Linked DNA regions of Homo sapiens: regions 1, 2, 3, 4, 6 and 7 are each linked to region 5. The links are contacts of gene promoters, found by promoter capture Hi-C in blood cells and fetal thymus (Javierre and others, 2016). All regions are on one chromosome and are shown on one strand. The core of a region is centred on a gene start or on the middle of the fragment in contact, and the rest is flanking DNA. Distances in the headings are between cores, read along the strand shown.

Region 1 (3,085 bases), core at 384-2,883, 430 kb before region 5:
ACTTAATTTGCCAGAGCCCAGGGCAAAATAAAAACACTGGGTCCCTTGTTCAAAAATTATTAAGAATTTTGAGCTGGCAACAGCAGAGACCAAGTGTGGGGCCCTTCCGAGTTGCAGGCTCTGTGTAACGCGTAGGTTACATGACCACGAAGCTGCCTCCTGGGTCTTGAGGATGCGGGCTGGGCAGTCAGAGTGTTGAAAATGGGAGAGGGAACAAAGGCGAGAGCGTTTGCTGCTGCTGCACTGCTGCTGGCCTGGGCAGAAGGCTGGGGTGGGGAGCTCTTTTCTTACATCAGTTTCAGATCTTCCCTCTTTCTGAGTCCTGTAGACTATAGCTAATCTTTTCCTAGGCTTGTTTGTTGGCTGGGTCTCAAATGACCATAGTCTAGCTCTTGCAGTTACCTACTGACATGGTTTAGATCTGTGTCCCTACTGACATGGTTTAGCTCGTGTCCCCACCAGATCTCATCTTGAATTGTACTCCCATAATTCCCACGTGTTGTGGGAGGGACTTGGTGGGAGATAATTTAAATCATGAGGGTGGTTTCCCCCATACTGTTCGCATGGTAGTGAATAAGTCTCATGAGATCTGATGGTTTTATCAGGGGGTTCTGCTTTTGCATCTTCCTCATTTTTCTCTTGCCACCACCATGTTAAGAAGAGCCTTTTGCCTCCCACCATGATTCTGAGGCCTCCCCAGCCATGCAGAACTGTAAGTCCAATTAAACCTCTTTTTCTTCCCAGTCTCGGGTATGTCTTTATCAGCAGCATGAAAATGGACTAATACAGTAACTTGGTACCAGCAGAAGGGGTGCCTCTGAAAAGATACCCAAAAATGTGGAAGCAACTTTGGAACTGGGTAACAGGCAGAGGTTGGAACAGTTTGGAGGGCTCAAAAAAAGACAAGAAAATGTGGGAAAGTTTGGTACTTTCTAGAGACTTGTTGAATGCCTTTGCCCAAAATGCTGATAGCAATATGGACAATAAAGTCCAGGCTGAGGTAGTCTCAGATGGAGATGAGGAACTTGTTGGGAAGTGGAGCAAAGATGACTCTTGTTATGTTTTAGCAAAGTGACTGGTGGCATTTTGCCCCTGCTGTAGAGATTTGTGGAATTTTGAACTTGAGAGAGGTGATTTAGGGTATCTGTGGAAGAAATGTCTAAGCAGCAAAGCATTCAAGAGGTGACTTGGGTGCTATTTAAGGCATTCAGTTTTAATAAGGAAGCAGAACATAAAAGTTTGGAAAGTTTGCAGCCTGAAAATGCAGTATAAAAGAAAAATCTATTTTCTGAGGAGAAATTCATGAAAGCTGCAGAAATTTGCATAAGTAATGAGGAGCCGAATGTTAATCCCCAAGACAATGGGGAAATGTCTCCAGGGCATATCAAAGGTCTTCATGGCAGCCCCTCCCATCACAGGCCCAGAGGCCTAGGAGGAAAAAAATGGTTTTGAGGGCCAGGCCCAGGGTACCTGTGCTGTGTGCAGTCTAGGGACTTGGTGCCCTGCATCCCAGCCACTTCAGCTATGGCTGAAAGGGGCCAATGTAGAGCGTGGGCTGTGGCTTCAAAGGGTGCAAGTCCCAGGGCTTGGCAGCTTCCACATGGTGTTGAGCCTGCAAGTGCACAGAAGTGAAGAACTGAGGTTTGGGAACCTCAGCCTAGATTTCAGAGGATGTATGGAAACGCCTGGCTGTGCAGGCAGAAGTTTGCTGCAGGGGCGGGGCTCTCATGGAGAACCTCTGCTAGAGCAGTGCAGAAGGGAAATGTGGGGTTGGAGCCCCCACAGAGAGTCCCTACTGGGGCACTGCCTAGTGGAGCTGTGAGAAGAGGGCCACTGTCCTCCAGACCCCAAAATGGTAGACCCACTGACAGCTTGCACTGTGCACCTGGAAAAGCCGCAGACCGCAGACTCAACGCTCGCCCATGAAAGCAGCCAGGAGGGAGGCTGTATCCTGCAAAGCCACAGGGGCAGAGCTGTCCAAGACCATGGGAACCCGCCTCTTGTTTCAGCATGACCTGGATGTGAGACATGGAGTCAAAGAAGATCATTTTGGAGCTTTAAGATTTGACTGCCCCACTGGATTTCAGGCTTGCATGGGGCCTATAATCCCTTTGTTTTGACAAATTTCTCCCATTTGAAATGGCTGTATTTACTCAATACCTGTACCCCCATTGTGTCTAGGAAGTAACTAGCTTGCTTTTGATTTTACAGGCTCATAGGTGGAAGAGACTTGCCTTGTCTCAGATGAGACTTTGGACTGTGGACTTTTGGGTTAATGCTGAAATGAGTTAAGACTTTGGGGGACTGTTGGGAAGGCATGATTGGTTTTGAAATGTGAGGACATGAGATTTGGAGGGGCCAGGGGTGGGATGATATGGTTTGGCTCTGTGTCCCCACCTAGATCTCATTTTGAATTGTACTCCCATAATTCCCACATGTTGTGGGAGGGACCTGGTGGGAGATAATTTGAATCATGGGGGCAGTTTTCCCTATACTGTTCCCATGGTAGTGAGTAAGTCTTACAAGACCTGATGGTTTTGTCAGGGGTTTCTGCTTTTGCATCTTCATCATTTTTCTGTTGCCACTGCCATGTAAGAAGTGCCTTTAACCTTCCACCATGATTCTGAGGCCTCCCCAGCCATGTGGAACTGCAAGTCCAACTATACCTCTTTTTCTTCCCAGTCTCAGGTATGTCTTTATCAGCAGCATGAAAACGGACTAATACACCTACATTAAAGGGCAGAGAAGAGGCCGTGCTGGTTCATCCATATAACTCATGGGATCATTAGGAGGTTCTTAAGGCTGGGTACAGGGGCTCATGCCTGTAATCCCAGCACTTTGCTGGGTGAAGGCAGGCAGACTCACCTGAGGTCAGGAGTTTGAGCCTGGCCATGGTGAAGCCTGCCTCTACTAAAAATACAAAAATTAGCCAGGCGTGGTGGGGCACACCTGTAATCCCAGCCATTCAGGAGGCTGAGGCATGAGAATCGCTTGAACCTGGGAGGTGGAGGTTGCAGTGAGCCAAGATCATGCCACTGCACTTCAGCCTGGGCAATAGAGCGAGACTCTGTCTCAAAAAAAAAAA
Region 2 (2,992 bases), core at 342-2,841, 340 kb before region 5:
CCTGCAGCGCCGGTGCCGCCACCGTTTAGTCTGACTGTGCATTTGACTAAGTCACAAGAGGCCAGGCCTGTGACTTGTCCGAGGGAAAAACCACCAGAAAACCAGGTGTCTGGGCTCCCAATCAGTAATCTTCATTGGGTTTGCTTTGATTGTAAACGAACAAAAAAAAAGCTTAGTTATTTAAATTCCATTCATGAATCTAGGAAGGAGCTTAGAAATTAGCCTTTTCCACAATCAAGACCAATTAGTCAACTCTTCTATTGTAAGTTTTCATCATTTTTCTGTTTACCCAACTTACAAACTGCTTTTTAAGTCAGAACTTGAAGATTTATTCCTGGCAAATGTTTTTAAGAGCAAAAATTTGGAATCAGTGTAAGTGTCCCCAAATAGGATAATGGGAAAGTAAATGAGGATACATCTACTCAGTGGAAAATATCTTAAACTGTTTGAAGTTTGCAATAAAGTGGAAAATGCTTAGCTGTTATGTTCAAGAAAAATTATGAAGTCTAATTTATTTAGAGTGCCATGATAATTATGCTAATTCATATAGGCACTGAAACAAAAAAAAAAACCCTAAAACTTACATGAAGAAAAATAGACTGGAGAGGAAGACACCAACATGTTACTGATAATGATTATCATTTTATGGGTGAAATGAGATTGATTTTTATTCACTTCTCTCAACGTTTCCAAATTTTCTCCAGTGGTCATCTAATACTTCCAGAACAACAACAGCATTAACTACAAGATCACAGTTCAAAGAAACAAGTCGCTGAGATAATTTGACAAGTGGTCTATATCCAGAGCCATTAATATACCCACAACTTCTGACCCAGTCATTTCTCTTAGGAATCTGTCCTGAGGAAGTAGTTCAGCTTTCAGAAAAAGCCCTAGGCAGGGAGATGTTTACTGCAGGGAAAAACTGGAAACCACGTAGATGCCAAACACTGTAAAAATAGTTAAAGAAAACGAGGTTCAGCCACTTGACACCACTACGTATTCATTAGGAAAGAAAATGATGACAAAAAGCATGCACTGTGACACCAAAGACAAAACTCAGCATTCACAATTGAATGTGCAGTATGATAAGAGGGTTTGTTTATTTTTATTTATTTTTATTTTTTATTTTTTTGAGATGGAGCCTTGCTCTGTCACCCAAGCTGGAGTGCAGTGGCGCCATGTAGGCTCACTGCAACCTCTGCCTCCTGGGTTCAAGTAATTCTCCTGTCTCAGCCTCCCGAGTAGCTGGGATTAGAGGGGTAAGCCACCATGTCTGGTTTTTGTATTTTTAGTAGAGATGGGGTTTTGCCATGTTGGCCAGGCTGGTCTCGAACTCCTGACCTCAGGTGATCTGCCTGCCTCGGCCTCCCAAAGTGCTGGGATTACAGGTGTGAGCCACCGTGCCCGGCTATAACAGGATTTTAAAAACGCTATAGGTGTTGAAAAAAAAATCCTCAAAGAAGACGAGATGAATGGTTATTGATGGCGGGGCAGGGTGATGAGATTGTGTGTAGTTTCTTTTCTTGATTCAGCATTTTCTGTAATGGACTTGTCTTGCATTTATAACTGTAAAACGTAATGAGTAATGGAACAATTACTTGGTTCCAAAGCACAGAGTCCAACAGGGAAGGCTGGTGGAGAGCAAGCCCCTTTGTCAGCAGTGGAACAAGAGGGAAGGAGCCATCGAGGAGGGACTGATGAGATCTGACTAACTCCAGCACTAACGAAGCAGTGAGTGGGTGAAAAGAAATTGCGGGGCCTTGCAGGGGTCTAGGTGGGGAATGGAAAGATAAGGAATGCAAAATACACAGTTCTGTGGAAATCACTCAACAGTCAACAGACCACCTCTGGTGGACGAACATCAAATTCTGTCAAATCCCTCCTACCCTAAAGGTCAGGGAGAGGAGAGCTGAGGGCAGCCTCTAGGTGACCTGAAGAGGGGACATGCCCAGTAGGACATAGGAAGCCTGAGTGCAGGGGTCAGTACTGCCAATCTTTAACAGAGGATGCAGGGATTGACCAGAGCGCCCTGAGGCCACAGTGTCCAGCTCACAGTGTCTGTGATTTGCATTGCCCTTTTCTCTTGAAATTGTCTTCCTCATCCTCCACAGTGTGGTCAAAACGGCTTCCCCTCTGAGGCCTTCCTTCATTTCCCCCACCTGGATGGCACATCGTTTATATGTGGGTCTACAGCTCGGTGCCACAGCTCAGAACTGATTTTGTTCCATCTGAAAACAGCGGAATATACACCTGTCAGCTGAGGAATGTTTAGGATGTTCCATATACCGTGCTTGGTTCCCAGTTGTCCCGGGCTGGGTTAGAGCCTGGCTCTGTGTATTTGTGCTCCAGTTACTTCATGCTGCATAATAAACATTCCAAAACCTAGGGGCTTTATTTTGCTTGCCTCTGTGGTATCAGCTAGGGCAGCCAGAAGGCTGGGGCAGGAATCTTCCGAGGCTTGCTCACTAATGGCTGGTGACTGGTGCTGGCTGCCAGCTGGGACCTTAGCTGGCACTGCTGGCTGGAACACCCACGAGTGTTCCTCCCTTTATGGCCTGGGCTTCTTCACAGCATGGTGGCTGGGCTCCAAGAGAGAGAAAGGAAGAGAGAGAGAACACATCAGACAGGAGGAAGCTGTATTTTCTCTTATGACCTAGCCTCAGAAGTCACACAATGTCACTCCCCTGTGTTTCATTGGTTAGAATCGAGTCACTAAAAGGGACTCATAGTCAAGGGAAGGGGAATGAGACTCTACCATTTCCTAGGAGGAATGTTGCAGACAGGTCTTCAACCCCCACTGTTGGCCTTTGTTGTACGCCTCTTCTTTGTACCTAACATAGAGCCCTGAACAGAATATTAGGCAAAATTGCTGGTTGGGTCAAGTTGCCTTCTGGATTGGTACAGATCTGGGTGCAGAAGATAGATTGGAATGAACCCACTTCCTTCCCATTAAGTCACTCAGAAACACAAAATGTTTGGAGAAGTCAATCAT
Region 3 (3,160 bases), core at 66-2,565, 450 kb before region 5:
TGAGGCCCACCCACACTGGGAGGGCCATCTGCTTTACTCAGTCTATGGACTCAAATATTAGTCTCCTGGAAACACCCTCACAGCCAGAAATAATGTCTAGTCAAATATCTGAGCACCCCATGGCTTAGTCAGGTTAACACATAAAATTAATCATCATAGCAACTTATCAAATTGTCTACAAATGAACACATGCTCTTAGAGTCTAGGTCCCAATCAATTGTAAGTCAACCAAAAGTTTCATTTCCCCAGGGTGTTAACTGGCCCTCAGGTGATTGTTAGGACAGTGCTCAAGGAGACTCGGAGATAACTTTTAGTCATCATTTTGTCTAACTTTCAAGTTCTGGATAATTTTTCTTAATATGATTAACCATACTCCCGCAAAATAATAGCCAAACCTGCTTAGACCAAAGGGACAAGTGGCTCCTTCATGGCCAGTTAAACTGTTGCAGCTGATGGCACCACTGCTATCTAAGTTCTCTTTGTCCCCAGATTTCTCAGTAACCTGGAGAGGGGGTGTTGGTGATATCGCAGAACTATCTGCCAAACTACTATTTTGATGAATGAGTTATTTTTGCAGTTCCCTTTTTGGTGTCTTTCTGGAATAGAAAGAATCATTTATTAGGAATGTTTGGCTTTCCCAGAGGGGCTCTCAGAGTAAAAAGACTGATTTGTTTTCCTTTGGCAATTTTAAATTATGCTTTTTGGCCCATTAGTGACTTTACTTACAGAAAAACATCTGAGCAAAAGAAAGGAAACAGGCGGGATCTTAGATCACATGAATCCCTACACCAAAGTCCTGGGAGAGCACCTGCGCTGGCTCTGAAGGGCCTATGCCACCAGGAGCACTGAAATACTGATCAAGAGATCAGGCCGGGCTCGGTGGCTCACGCCTGTAATCCCAGCACTTTGGGAGGCCGAGGTGGGCGGATCACTTGAGGTCAGGAGCTCGAGACCAGCCTGGCCAACATGGTGAAACCCTGTCTCTATGAAAAATACAAAAATTAGCCAGACATGGTGCCTGTAATCCCAGCTACTTGGGAGGCTGAGGCAGGAGAATCACTTGAACCCAGGAGGTGGAGGTTGCAGTGAGCCAAGATCGCACCACTGCACTCCAGCCTGAGTGACAGAGTGAGACTCCGTCTCACAAAAAAAAAAAAAAAAAGAAAGAAAAAAAAAAAAGAGAGATCAGCAGCCACAGAACACACCTTGGAGTCACATGGGTATAGCAGAAGGGCCCCCTTCCCTCACACCGGGCAGCAGGAGGCTGGACTTCTCCCATCAGTTTGCCACTTTCTTGCTGTGTGGCCTTAGTGTCAGAATCACACATTCTTTGGATTTCCTTATAATGGATCAAAAAAGAAAGAAAGAAGAAAGAAAGAAAGAGGAAAGAAAGAAAGAAAAGAAAGAAAGAGAAAGTGTGAGAGAGAGAGGAGGAGGAAAATAATCAGTTCTGCTGCACTTGCCTCACTGGGTGGTTATAAGGACCGATTCAATTCAGAATTTATTGAGTTGTTGTGTGCCCAGCACAGTGATGATTGGGGTAAAAGAGTGCTTGTGAAAGTGCTTTGCAAATCAAAAGAGAAGGTATTGACCCACACTATTGATCCCATTGAGATCAAAGACCCATGAAACCAAGCCTGCAGGCTGGCCTCATGGTGGCTGCAGCTACCAGGGGTGGGCATGGGGTGGGGTGGGGGGTGGAAGTCTTAATAGAGGGGTAGGGGGGGCAGTCCCTTAGGTGGAAGGTAGGGGAAAAGACTTAACCCAGGAATATAAAATAATCTTGCCACTGCTAGGACTGCAAACAAGCTCAGGGAACGCTGTGGGTGTCAGGCAGCCAACTAATTAGTGTTTTGTGAAAAGAAAGGAATCAAGAATGAAATTGGCCCCTGCTGGTATCCTGAGAGCCAGTGAGCCAGCCCAGGGTCCACAGTGCAGACTGAATTCTCGTCTGTGGCAGAGTGCTTCTTTACTTTTCTCCTGCAGAGCCATGGATGTGGATTTTGGCTAAAAATATTTTTTCCCCTCAAATGACATAGCAACCACAAAAGAATTTTCTGAGTAGTCCCTCTCACATGCTGGGTTTCTCTCCCTGAATTCGAAGGAGCAGCTGGACCCCTCACAACCCCAGTCCCTAGACCCCAGTCCCTAGTCAGAGTGGTTTCTTGCATCTCCAGTCTGGATCCTGGAGGGGTCAGATAGGAAAGTCCTGGGCAATGTGAAGAGGCTGGGAAAGGGCCTGAAATCATTTCACCAGCTGGTGCCAGGACTCCTCTTTCCAGATGGAGGGAGCCCAGCACCTCTTCTCCCAGGGCTGGTTGTCAGCCCCTGAGGATGGGGGTATCAAGGCCTGGGGATACCAAGGTCTGAGTGTCGGGTAGAGGATGGGAGCCCCAGAATCACCTGGAGGTGGTGTGGAAGAGGCTTCCAGCAGTATTTTGTGAAAGGAAAATATTTGCAGTGTTTTGTGAAAGGAAAATAAAAACTTGGTACCCCAATTCACTATATCAGAGGCATTTGAACCAGAGTGACTCCATCTTGAATAGGGGCTGGGTAAAATGAGGCTGAGACCTACAAAATGAGGCTACATTTCTAGATGGCTAAGGCATTCTAAGTCACAGAATTTGACAGGTTGGCACATGATGCAGGTCATAAAGACCTTGCTGATAAAACAGTTTGCAGTAAAGGAGCCAGCTAAAACCCACCAAAACCAAGATGGTGATGAGAGGGAACTTTGGTCATCCTCACTGCTATGCTCTCACCAGTGCCATGACATTTTACAAATGCCATGGCAATGTCAGGGAGTTACCATATATAATCTAAAACGGGGAGGCATATATAATCTACCCCTTGTTTATAATTTCATCAAGAAATAACCACAAAAAAATGGGCAACCAGCAGCCCTAGGGGCTGCTCTGTCTATGCAGTCTCGCTCTGTCACCTAGGCTGGAGTGCAGTGGTGCGATCTTGGCTCACTGCAACCTCTGCTTCCTGGGTTCAAGCTAGTCTCCTGCTGCAGCCTCCTGAGTAGCTGGGATTACAGGAGTGTGGCATCATGTCTGGCTAATTTTTGTATTTTTAGTAGAGACAGGGTTTCACCATGTTGGCCAGGCTGGTCTCGAACTCCTGACCTCAAGTGATCCACCCACCTCGGCCTCCC
Region 4 (3,109 bases), core at 527-3,026, 480 kb before region 5:
AGTGAGTACAAGCAGGGGAAATGCCAGATGCTTATAAAACCATCAGATCTCATGAGACTCACTATCACGAGAACAGCATGGGAGAAACTTGCCCCCATGGTTCAATGACCTCCACCTGGTCTTTCCCATGACACATGGGGATTATGAGGATTACAATTCAAGGTGAGATTTTGGGTGGGGACACAGCCAAGCCATATCATTCCACCCCGGCCCCTCCCAAATCTCATGCTCTCACATTTCAAAGCACAATCATGTGGGGCAGAATGATATGGTTTGACTATGTTCTCACCCAAATTCTTATCTTGAATTGTAATCCTCATAATGCCCATGTGTCAAGGGAGAGACCAGGTGGAGGTCATTGAACGATGGGGGTGGTTTCCCCCATGCTGTCCTTGTGATAGTGAGTTCTCATGAGATCTTATGGTTTTATAAGTGTTTGGCAGTTCCTCCTGCATTCATTGTACCTCCTGCCTCCTTGCGAAGAAGGTGTTTGTTTCCCCTTCACCTTCTGCCACAATTGTAAATTTCCTGAGGCCTCCCCAGCCGTGTGGAACTGTAAATCAATTAAACCTCTTTCCTTTCTAAATTACCCAGTCTTGGGCAGTTCTTTAGAGTAGTGTGAAAACGGACTAACAAAATCAAGTATTATGTGCTAACATGACCTTATATGCTCTACTTCGATATGACTGGCAGTAAATTTGTTTACACCAGCATCACCACAAACTTGGGAATAATGAGTTGCACTATGACTTTACAACCCTTTGTGACATCACTAGGTGTTAGGAATTTTTCTGCCCCATTATAATCTTATGGAAGCATATCACATATGTGGCCTGTTGTTGACTGAACTGTCATGATGCAGCATGTGACAACACATCACTGCCGTGTGCTCCTCAGACCCCATCAGATTTCTCTGGTTGTCCCAACTGCATCCTTGAGAATGGAGGGTCCAGTCCAGAATCACATATTGCATTTAGTTCTGTGTCTTCAGTCTCCTTCAGCCTGAAACACTTCCTCAGCCAGGAGCTTTGAAAATTACTGGCAGTCATTTTGCAGAATGCTCCTCCATTTGGGATTGTCTGATGTCTCTCTGGCCGGAGTCCTATGGAGTGATGCCACATTCTCACTGCAGCCCCCCAGGTGCTGCAAGCTTTTTATTGGCCCTGTTGATGTTTACTTTGGTCACAGATGAGGTGATGTCTGCCAGCCTTCTTCACCATGAAGTTGCTCTTTTTCTCTCTGGAATGGATAAGTGTTTTGTGGGCAGATACTTTGAGGCTATGTAAACATCCCATTGAAGAACATCAGACTTTCAATGCGTTCCCTTACTTACTTATATCTGTGTGCACTGGTGGTTTCCCATCTGTTACTGTCACTATGTTGGTGCTCAAATTGTCCCTGATTCTGACCACTGAAGGCTCCTTCAAGCTGGCTCTGTGTCCTACTGACGTGTTCCCATTATTCATTAAGCACTTCCTTGTTTTCTGGCAAAACAACAAGTTCCGGGCTCATTTTCTGCACCCCACTCCTACTTCCCAGTGCTAGAATCAGCCGTTTCTGCAAGGTGCTCTGGTTCCTTTAGTGGAAAGTCATATTCAGAAGCCAGTATTCAGGTGCTAGGAGTGCTCCAGGCTATGCGGGGCTGGCTGCTCCAGGCCCCCCAGTGACTGTGGGGACTAGACACACACACATTTCCATCTATATATATGGACTTATCTTTATGTATTCAAGGCCACAAGGGTACACTGATCATTCCGATTTTAATCCCACACAACAGGATTCATTCCAGTTTTCTCTCCATATACATAACTTCCTTCTCTGACAATAGGAAACCTAACTCCCACTGTCTTCAGTAGATTTATTTGATCAGTATCCCTGTGTGTAACCAATCTCCCGTCTCTGCCACCAGCCTCTCTCCCACATGGATCCCCTCCTTGCCTCACTTGGACTCCAGCACTCCAGGCAGGGCCTTTGCTTTCCCCAGGATGCTCCCTCCACCCTGCTGGGCTCCCACACCCCACACCAGTCCACCCCTTGAGGGCACATTCTCCCCACATCCTCTCTGGTACCTCTGGGGCACGATGGCTTCTCCCTCCGCCACCTTTGCTATGCCCCACTTTGTGGCTTTAGGACAGGACTCAGGAGAAAGGGAAGACAAGAAGGGAAGGAATCCCTTGGATTTTTTAACCAAAAAATGCATCAAGTACATGGAGACAGAGCCACAAAATAATCATAACAAATATTCTAAACCAATCAGACAGCCAGCCCCAGATCACCCTATAAGGGGGCATTGCTACCCCGTGACAGCTGGGTAGCCTGGGCAAATTCCCTAACCTCACCGAGCCTCAATTTCCTCAATGGTAAAATGGGGAAAGGACAGTGCTTCCCTCGTGGTTTGGGTGTGAAGCTTCTGTGAGTTAATGTTAGTGAACAGCCAGCCTCAGCCCCTACCCAAGGTAGCTGCTCCGCAGATGTGATGACAACCACCGTGTGTTTCTCAGAATCCTAGGAAATAAGGGCTTCTTTCTAGAAGGCAGGGCCAGGATGCTGCGTGGGTGTTCCCTGGCAGAGAGGCTCTGTGGCCCTCAGGACTTCATCCTTCTGCAGGCTTGTGTGTTTGTTTTATTTTTTTGGCACGCCTGCAGCCAAGTTGGGGAGGGTTTCCTGGACAGAGGTCCTTTGGCTGCTGCCTTAAGACGTGCAGCCTGGGCCGTGGCTGTCACTGCGTTCGGACCCAGACCCGCTGCAGGCAGCAGCAGCCCCCGCCCGCGCAGCAGCATGGAGCTCTGGGGGGCCTACCTCCTCCTCTGCCTCTTCTCCCTCCTGACCCAGGTCACCACCGAGCCACCAACCCAGAAGCCCAAGAAGATTGTAAATGCCAAGAAAGGTAAGGAGGGGGACAGAGCCCTGTGCCATCTTCCAGGGAGCAGGTCCCCCTCTCCTTAGTGTGTCCTCATGCTCCTTTCCTTCATTTTCCTCCTTTTGAGTCATCTAGGGAACTTGAGTAAAGTGGGCTTTGGGGCTTGGGGGAGTTCTCTCATAGCAGAGTTGGTTGTCAGAATCATAAGAATCCCTGACCCTTAGAGTTGGGAAGAACCTTCCAGATCAT
Region 5 (2,767 bases), core at 171-2,670:
TTAGACACTAAATTCCCCAAACTGAATTTCTCCCTTCAGTTTGGAATCAACAGAAAGTGGTGGCTGTCAGAAGCAAGCAGCTGCTCAGGGAGCTCCCATGAGAAGGGCAGGCCGCCTGCTGACCGTGGAGAGCACAGCAAGCCCCTATCCACAGAGCTTTCTTCTCTGTTACTCTGATCATGCCAGAAACGGGGCTACTGGGAAAAGGAACAGGAAGGGAAGAGAAGCTTTACTTGGGTCCTGCTGTATTAGTAAACCCTCCTTCTGCGCCACTAACTGGCTGCTAGGAAATGGGAATGGTGATATTTCAAGAATGAGCCATGGCTAATACTTAGAAACTAGGCTAATTATGTGACATGATGGCCCTGGGCACAGAACAAGGAAGAAGAGGAAGGTAAACTTAGTCTGATTTAATGAAAAGTCCAATTTGGAGACCATTTTCAGAGATCTATGGCCTTCAAAGATCTGCAGCCTGGCAGGCCACTCTCGCACCAGGTCAGGGGAGTGGGCAGCAGGCTCTCTGGGGCTTCATGAATAGGTAAATGTCATCTGCAGCAAGAAGGTGGGGCTCTGATACATCCTGATATTCTTTGCTCATACTGTAATTAGCACATTCCTTGTATATAGTGATTTTTTTAAGAGCACTTAACATGGCCAATCAATCAATGTTCTGAATTTCCTTGTTTATCCTAATAATTAGCAACTCCCTTCCTTCCCTCCCTTCCTCCCTCTCCTCCCTCCCTACCTTTCCTCCCCTCTTTCCCTGCCTCCCTCCCTTCCTTCTTTCCTTCTTCCAAGTGGGACAAATGTGGCCTTCAATGCCCAGCAGCTATCAGTTGTTGCAATTTCTGAGTTAGTGCAGTCTAAACTAATGAAGAAATTGTGAAGATCTCCCCCCAGTTTTCATCACTGTGCTTACATATAGCTGTGCTTCAGTGCAAGCAAGCATGATCTACCTCCAGGGATGTACCGAAGGAGTAGGAAGAAAGCTGACTCAGAAATCCAGGGCCTTCTTCAAGGCAGAGGCCCTGCCTAATACTCCCGCGTTTGATGGTCCCTGAGTCAGAACGGTTTGTTAGTGGTTTAGAGTTGCAGATTTTCCACTCACTTATAAAGGCCCCTGCTGTGCACAGTCACTATGATGAATGAATAACTCAGTTGCATACGCAAGTCTGTTCCCAAGTACCATCTGTTGAGTGAATGAATGAGTGAACAAAAGGGAAACACATTACCCCAATTGTGAATCTGAATAATGAACTTGGCAATGTGATGTGATCTCTGCTCCAGCAGGCCTGGGTTCCAAGTCCAGCAGGGCCCTTGATGTCCTTTGTCCTTCATTCCTGTGCACCTTGCGCCTCCAAATCACATTTGGTACGTCTTTCTTGTAGTGCTGATGGTTATTTATGAGCATGTCCTGGGCTGCCTGTTCTTATTGTAAGCTCTCCAATTAATTGCCTAGTGCTGTGTACCCAATTATCATGTAAATACATGTTGAATGAATAAACAAGTGTGACTCATTCAGAGCTAAACTACGCATGAGAGTAGACATGGCCAGCTTCAGCCAAGAGTGAAAACCAGATTCCCAACTCCCTATAGCCCATTCCCTGGCTCCCTGGAAAAGTGGAGGGAAAACACTTGGGAATGAGCAGGATTCTAGGAGCTGGGAAGCGCCCCTTTCCCCACTGGGAAATTCCATGTGAGCACTCATCGGGGCATTCCCCTGCTCTCATTCTCTTGCTTCAGCTGCTTGGGATCTTTCAATGCACCCCTCCCTGCAAAAAGATGGTGGCACTAGCTGGAAAGTATAGCATCCAGTGCCCCACTTCACTCATTTCTTTCTTCCCTCCTCTCTTGCCTCCACTTTGTCCTACTCACATTATCCCCCACCCCTGCTGCTGGTAGGTTTATTCATCCACTGAAACAAGCTTGATTGAGTTCAAGGCAATTAACATTACTGAGCATCTGTTAGGAACTGGAGACTGAGAGTGGCCTTTAAGGATTTTCAAGGCCAGGAGCAGTGGCTCATGCCTGTAATCCCAGCATTTTGGGAGGCCGAGGCAGGAGGATTGCTTGAGCTCAGGAGTTCAAGACCAGCCTGGGCAACATAGTGAGACTTCATCTCTACCAAAAATACAAAAAATTAGCTGGGTGTGGTAGTGCGCGCCTGTGGTCCCAGCTGCTTGCAGGGGTAAGGTGGGAATATCACTTGAGCCCAGGAGACTGAGGCTGCAGTGAGCTGTGATTGTGCCACTGCACCCCAGCCTGGGTGACAGAACAAGACCCTGTCTCAAAAAAAAATCATCCTCCTACTCCTCACAGGAGAAAGACAGGCAAGCAGCTTACCTAAATACACAATAAAATGTAATAGCTGCTAGATACAATTACAGGCACTACACAGGATGCATCAGGAAGGAAAAAACAACTAATTCTAATTCTGACCAGGAGATACCTTCTCAGTGGAGATGGCATTTGAGTTGAGCCAGGAAGGAGGACTAGAGTTTTGATAACAGTTTGGGAAATGGCGTGAGTAAAGACGTGGAAGCACATGCAGGCAACATTTGAAAGAGCAGAGGGAGTGGCAGGGGACAGGGAGAAGTCCTGGATGGCTATGCGGAGGAATTTGGACTTGATTGGGAGGAGGAGCTCTTCAAATATGACTGCACTCTTTCTTTTCCTCCCTCACAGCTCTGAGAGTTGTCAGGCATTGGTTTGGTTCAGTGATCGTAAACAGGCTGGCTCCCCAAGGGCAGAGATTGCTTTGCCCAAC
Region 6 (2,762 bases), core at 184-2,683, 330 kb after region 5:
CAAGTATAATACAGATAAACAATAACTTGGCACAAATAATATAGTAGTTTAGTAATATATATTAAAAATAAAATAATTCATGCCCTCTGATCCAGAAATTTCTTAGCCATAAATATGACCCAAAGGAATAACTGGAAAGTATTTTGCATGTGTATGTACATAGATTCATCTCAGCAGTATTTATCCAACAATGGAGTATTTACGGTGTGCCCGTGAAGTGGAATGGTAAGTGGCCACTCCAATTAATGAGAATGATTAGAAAGAGAGGTAGATAACTACTAGTATTGTCTCCATTTGTCAGATGAGTAAAATGAAGCTCAGCTACCTCAGATAACCTGCTCAAGGTAACACAGCCAGGAAGTGACAGAGCCAGGATGTATACCCAGGTGTGGCTGACCCTACAGCCTGCGCTCTGAATCTTCTGAGTAGAGTATTTATGAGTGGGATTGAGACTGAACTTAGGGATCATGTGTATGTGTAAGCCATCACAGACAAAAGCAGTTTTTCACAGTTACTTCCAAAACATTTTTTCTTTTGCCTGAAAATATGATAGACAATTTCTGAATTTTACTCTTGAATTGAATGCTTTTCCTTAAGAGTTCTCAGTTTTGATCTCTGAATTCTTTGAGCAACTTGAGGATTTTAAATACTGGCTATTAAGATATGGATTTAGAATGACCAAAAAGTTACCTTTTTGTTTGAAGATGTAATCTCTGCTTTTTCAAATTCTGCAACTTGTTCTAATAATTCTCTTGAAGAAGAAAGCAAAGATAAAAATTATTCATTTAAAATAGATTTATATCACACGCAAGAAGAGTAAAATCACTGGTACCAACCCATTACATGCCAGAGAGAACAGAGCAAGATGGACCAAACTTCACCATATCAAAAATGTTAGTTGCAAATGGTTGAGAACCTAAACCACATGGACTCAAATGTAATCATCCACAGTACCTGGCATTTTGTATCTACTAGGTATGCAATATCTACTGCTAGAAATAAACCATAATGTTAATACAAATATGAGGAAAATTTATAGTCAACTTTGTATTCTTGAGGTGCTATGAGGAGACTGTTTTATTACATAATGTGTATTGTTAGCTAGTAGGTGTTCAAAAAAGATTCTTAATAAAGTAGTCTCAGAAAAATGAAAATAGTCCATAGTATCTACTGAAAAAGAGTACCACAAATTCCTAGGAAAGACAGATAGTGGGGGTGTGCCATCTGAAGATTTGCAAAGGCCAATGAGAAGTGACTACACACAAGCTTAGAGTGTTAACAGCAGTCAGCTTCTAAGCTTCTTAAAGCACCACCTTCTCAGAGTTTTCTCACCAGTCATCTACTGACAGTGGCAGAAGTTCAATGATTTTCCTCCCCAGCTCATAGGTTGTCCTCAGCGTTGTTCAACACTCTGCATGTGAACTGATGTGCTGTGACTGTGCTTAGAGTAGTTCACGGGGCTTGGCGGTCAGTCCTTCCTGATTTCTGGCATGCTTTTTCTTAAAATGAGTTTCAACTTCACCAATTTTACCATATTTTTTGAATTTGAGCTCTTAGATGTCCATATTATAAGCTTTTTTGTATATTTCCTATTTCAAAGTTAATAAATGTATACTTTTAAATTCCATTATTTAGAAAACTTCCAATGCTACTGGATTGAATTGATGGTATTTATTATATTTGAATTGACTTTTCAACTGTCTCATAATCTCTATTTCTTAGTTGACCAATCTATAAAGACTGATGGTAATACTGACCAAGCTAACAAAAATGCTGTAAGAAATAATTAATGATAGCCTGAAAAGCAATTTCATAAATCTCGATGGCCTTTGTAATACCTAGGAACAGTAGAAACAGAGAACTTTTAAAAGGGTGCTTAGTGGTACCCAAGAGATCACTCAGTGACTCAATGCTTTGCTGTTACCCTACCCAAATTTCCTCACACACTAGCCCCAAGAAAATATGCAGCCAAAGATGTTCACTAACTTTTAAGATTATGCTTGGGCCATTATTGTCACAGTTGCAAGTTCAAATTTTATTACCGGTTTTCAAGTTCAGAGATGTCTGTCTGTAGCTTAAGATACCACTTCTCAGCTTGTGCAAACAGCTGTCGCAGAAGTAACACATTGGTATAGGCAGTGTTGATGAGCTCAGATTCCACCTCACTATGAACCACAGCTTGTAATCCATTGAGGACTTCAGAGACTTCATCTATGGTGAAGGTGTCCTCCACCAGCCTGAAAAACAACCATGATCCAAAACTTATAGAAAAACAACAAGAAAAATCTACAAAATACAGCAAAATTAAGAAACCCACATTCATGTAATCTAAGAAATTCAAAGATTACAGTGAAAATCTCTCTGGGAACTATCTTCTTTATTAATAAACATTGAAAATAATTTAAACTCAATTAATTTTTGACATCTATTCAAATGATTAAATTGTGCACATCCTTTAATACAAGTAAATGCTCAAACACATTCCCAAAACCATCATCTACTTTTTTAACTTTTTAGTATTAAATGTCTTATTTCAAACTCCACTGAAATCAGTCTTATTACATTTAATAATTTCAAAAGTCACCCGGAAGGCATAGTCTCATTTCTTTCTAATATTTCTCTAACATTTTAATAACTGTATGAACTATTCACAGGTTAGTAAACGTCTATGGGAAATAAATGGTAATTATATATATTGCTTCTCTTTGCATTCTTGAGACCCAAAATAATAATAATAATAAAAACTAGCTTATCTTAAAGTT
Region 7 (2,950 bases), core at 437-2,936, 400 kb after region 5:
GGCTTGCTCTGGAAACCCTAAGCTGCCGTGTCAGAAGGCTGCCCACCCTGAGACCACCGTGCTGGAGAGGCCACAAGTAGGCCCAGCATTTCAACTGTTGCTGTAATTAGCCTCATTCAACATTTATTGAGCATTTAGTACATGCTAAGCACTGGGCAAGGTGGTGAGCAACGGCAGACACAGGCGTGGTGCTCATGAAACTCACAATCACAGACCCAAGTCACACCATCACAGGAACAAGCTGATGGTTATCAGTACAGGAAGCTAGAGAGTGTGACAGGGGACTCTGATCTGCTCTGGAAAGGGGAGCCAGGGAAGGCGTCCCTGAGGAGGTAGCGTTTGAGCTGAGAGCTGAAGAATGGACAGGAATGACCTACAGGAAGCAGGGGAGAAAGGGGAGGAGGGCGGTGTGTGCCAAGGCCCCGCACCACTCATGCCTGTGGGACATCACTGTCAACTCTCTGGTGAAGTGTCCATGCATGCAATTGGTTTAGGACTTCTCCACTCATGTTCTTTTCTTTTTAAACTTTTTAATTACAGAAATTTAAAAACATACACAAAAGCAGAGGGAATAGTATTAATGCAGGGGTCCCCAACCCCTGGGCCACAGACCACTACTGCTCTGTGGCCTGTTAGGAACCAGGCTGCACAGGAGGAGGTGAGTGGCAGGCAAGTGAGTGAAGCTTCGTCTGTATTTATAGCTGCTCCCCATCGCCTGCATCACCGCCTGAGCTTCGCCAACTGTCATATCAGTGGCGGCATTAGATTCTTACAGGAGCACAAACCTATTGTGAACATGCAAAGGATCTAGACTGTGCACTCCCTATGAGAATCTAATGCCTGGTGATCTGTCACTGTCTCCCATTACCCCGATGAGATCGTCTAGTTGCAGGAAAACAAGCTCAGGCTTCCCACTGATTCTACATTATGGCGAGTTGTATAATTATCTCATTATACATTACAATGTAATAATAATTAAATAAAGTGCACAATAGATGTAACATGCTTGAATCATCCCAAAATCACCTCTCCACCAATGCTGCAGGTCCATGGAAAAACTGTCTTCCACAAAACTGGTCCCTGGTGTCAAAAAGGTTGGGGACCGCTGGTATAATGAAGATGCACATACCCCTCACCCAACTTCAATAATGATTAACATTCTGTCCATTTTTGGTTTCAGCTACACTTCCCACTTTTCTTTCCTTTCCTCTTCTTTGTTTCATCTGCTCCCTTCCTTCTTTTTCCTTCCTTACCTTCTTCCTTTTAAAAACAAGTTTGCTGTAGTATTTTAAAGAAAATCCAAGACATCATGCAATTCCCTTAAAAACTCATGCTCTTATCCTTATAAAGCCCCAAATCACAATTTTAAAACATTAAAATAAGAAATGGAGACTGGATGGACTCTTCCTCTGTGTGGTTAGGCCACCACTCAACAAAGGAACCGAAGGAGGGACGGAGTCCCCTGGGGATAGAGCAGCAAGCTCGGAAAGGCCTCACGCCGTGGGTGGCACTTTCTCAGGGGGGTAATCTCCAGGTGGCTCAGAATGCTCTACAGAGGCTGATAAAGGCCGCAGTGAGCTCCAGGGTTTCTCTTGTTCAACTTTTGGAAACCAGGAAGTTTCTAAGGACCACAGGAAAACTGATGTTGCCTGAGACAAGGTGGGACCATCACCCCTAATTCTCACAGGTGGCTCTGAGACAGGAAAGTGATCAGCAGAGTTAAGTGGCTAAAAGAAGAGCCATTGGTGATTGGAGGGTTATGAGTGAGAGGGAAGTCAGAGAGGAGAGGAAGGTAGGGGCACTGTTCAGGCGCAGATGATGAATTTTGATTTATTCCACTTCAGGAAGATTTTTAAGTGGGGTGTGGCATGATCCAATTCATGTTTTAAAGATCTCTAAAGCCCCCAGGAGAAGAAGGGTGGTGGCTGGGGGTTAGGGGTGGTGCAAGGAAGCAGGGATGCCAGTCAGGAGCTGTTGCAGTTGTTCAGGAAAAAGATGGTGGTGGCGGAGTTGGAGTGACGGTGGTGGTTGTGGTGTAGAGAGATGGATGGCTTTTGACTTACTCTGGGGGTAGACACAATGGTGAAGATTAGAATTGAAAGAAAGGAAGGCATCAAGGATGACTTGGGTTTTGAATCTGCACGTTTGGGTGGTTGGTGGTGCTGCCCCTGGGAGGGGAGGATCAGCAGAGAGCAAGTCTGGGGATGCTACCCGGAAGATGGTAGCCATGAGCATGGGAAGAGCTGAGGTCAAGAGAGAGTGGAGGCTGGCAGCGACCTGGCTAGGAGCAGCTTCCCAGGCATCAACAAGGCAGACTGTGATTGGCTGAGGAGCAAATCAATGGGAAGTGAGGATGTGGAAAGAGGATGTGTAGGTGAAACTTGTGTCAGGTTTGCTATGATAAAGTATCAGGAGTAATCCAATAAAACAACAAAAAAATGTAAATGGATCTCTTTTGGGTTCATTTGCAATTAAATGAAAGAAGTGATTCTAAGAACCTTGCTTGTATTCAATTCAGCTGTGTCCTGGTAACTGTTGCCACAAAATTTAGTGGTATAAAAACAATAACCATTTTATTTTATTCGCCATTTTGTGAGCCGGGAATTTGGAAGGGGCTCAGCAGGGCATATTTAGCTTGGGGTCTCTCATGTGGCTGCAGTTAGATATTGGCTGGGGCTGTGGCCACTGGAAAGCTTAACTGGAAAGCTTAACTACTGGCTTAGGGCCAGTAGTTGATGCTGGCTGCCATGCAGGGCCCCAGCACACGGCAGCTTCAGCAGGGAGGGCTCAAGGTACTCAGACCTTTTACATGGCAGCTGGCTTCCCCTGTGCAAGAGAACCAAGGGGAAGTTGCAGGTCCTTTTCTGACATGGCACCGGAAGCCACACAGTGTCCCTCTGCTCTTCCACTGGTCAGAGCAGCCAGAGGCCAGCCCGGAGTCAAGGGACTC

What was found. Contacts are between HindIII fragments. The CHiCAGO score rates a contact against its expected background, and 5 or more counts as called.
Region 1: a contact is called between a fragment that was not itself captured here and the fragment with the promoter of LARS2-AS1 in region 5, in 2 of 17 cell types (M1 macrophages and endothelial precursors). The highest score is 5.5, in M1 macrophages.
Region 2: a fragment that was not itself captured here is called in contact with the fragment with the promoter of LARS2-AS1 in region 5 in 2 of 17 cell types (megakaryocytes and erythroblasts); the score reaches 5.4 in megakaryocytes.
Region 3: a fragment that was not itself captured here is called in contact with the fragment with the promoter of LARS2-AS1 in region 5 in 6 of 17 cell types (megakaryocytes, endothelial precursors, M1 macrophages and 3 more); the score reaches 12.4 in megakaryocytes.
Region 4: a contact is called between a fragment that was not itself captured here and the fragment with the promoter of LARS2-AS1 in region 5, in 10 of 17 cell types (endothelial precursors, erythroblasts, M0 macrophages and 7 more). The highest score is 9.4, in endothelial precursors.
Region 6: a fragment that was not itself captured here is called in contact with the fragment with the promoter of LARS2-AS1 in region 5 in 1 of 17 cell types (megakaryocytes); the score reaches 6.5 in megakaryocytes.
Region 7: a contact is called between a fragment that was not itself captured here and the fragment with the promoter of LARS2-AS1 in region 5, in 1 of 17 cell types (endothelial precursors). The highest score is 6.8, in endothelial precursors.

Annotation. Positions count from the first base shown.
Region 1 is chr3:45,075,922-45,079,006 of GRCh38, forward strand. The region is part of intron 1 of LOC124906233 (a long non-coding RNA gene); the gene reads left to right. Among named protein-coding and RNA genes, the nearest start is that of CLEC3B, 51 kb to the left of the region's middle. The HindIII fragment of the contact is 4,633 bases long and covers 1-3,085 here.
Region 2 is chr3:45,167,750-45,170,741 of GRCh38, forward strand. No RefSeq gene overlaps it. Among named protein-coding and RNA genes, the nearest start is that of CDCP1, 23 kb to the left of the region's middle. RefSeq lists an enhancer at 1-391 and a silencer at 1-71. The HindIII fragment of the contact is 2,845 bases long and covers 170-2,992 here.
Region 3 is chr3:45,058,780-45,061,939 of GRCh38, forward strand. No RefSeq gene overlaps it. Among named protein-coding and RNA genes, the nearest start is that of CLEC3B, 34 kb to the left of the region's middle. The HindIII fragment of the contact is 8,779 bases long and covers 1-3,160 here.
Region 4 is chr3:45,023,585-45,026,693 of GRCh38, forward strand. CLEC3B (C-type lectin domain family 3 member B) reads left to right here and starts at 2,719. Exons shown (of 3, transcript NM_003278.3): 1 at 2,719-2,887. The coding sequence starts at 2,779. RefSeq lists an enhancer at 3,099-3,109. The HindIII fragment of the contact is 1,257 bases long and covers 1,149-2,405 here.
Region 5 is chr3:45,508,125-45,510,891 of GRCh38, forward strand. LARS2-AS1 (LARS2 antisense RNA 1) reads right to left here and starts at 1,421. Exons shown (of 4, transcript NR_048543.1): 1 at 1,233-1,421. The region is part of intron 15 of LARS2 (leucyl-tRNA synthetase 2, mitochondrial); the gene reads left to right. RefSeq lists an enhancer at 1-666 and a silencer at 1,493-1,787. The HindIII fragment of the contact is 1,698 bases long and covers 226-1,923 here.
Region 6 is chr3:45,833,548-45,836,309 of GRCh38, forward strand. LZTFL1 (leucine zipper transcription factor like 1) reads right to left here. Exons shown (of 10, transcript NM_020347.4): 3 at 2,043-2,237; 4 at 691-751. Among named protein-coding and RNA genes, the nearest start is that of LZTFL1, 7.2 kb to the right of the region's middle. The HindIII fragment of the contact is 276 bases long and covers 1,296-1,571 here.
Region 7 is chr3:45,908,247-45,911,196 of GRCh38, forward strand. It overlaps a transcript of LZTFL1 not described here. Among named protein-coding and RNA genes, the nearest start is that of CCR9, 23 kb to the left of the region's middle. The HindIII fragment of the contact is 2,010 bases long and covers 682-2,691 here.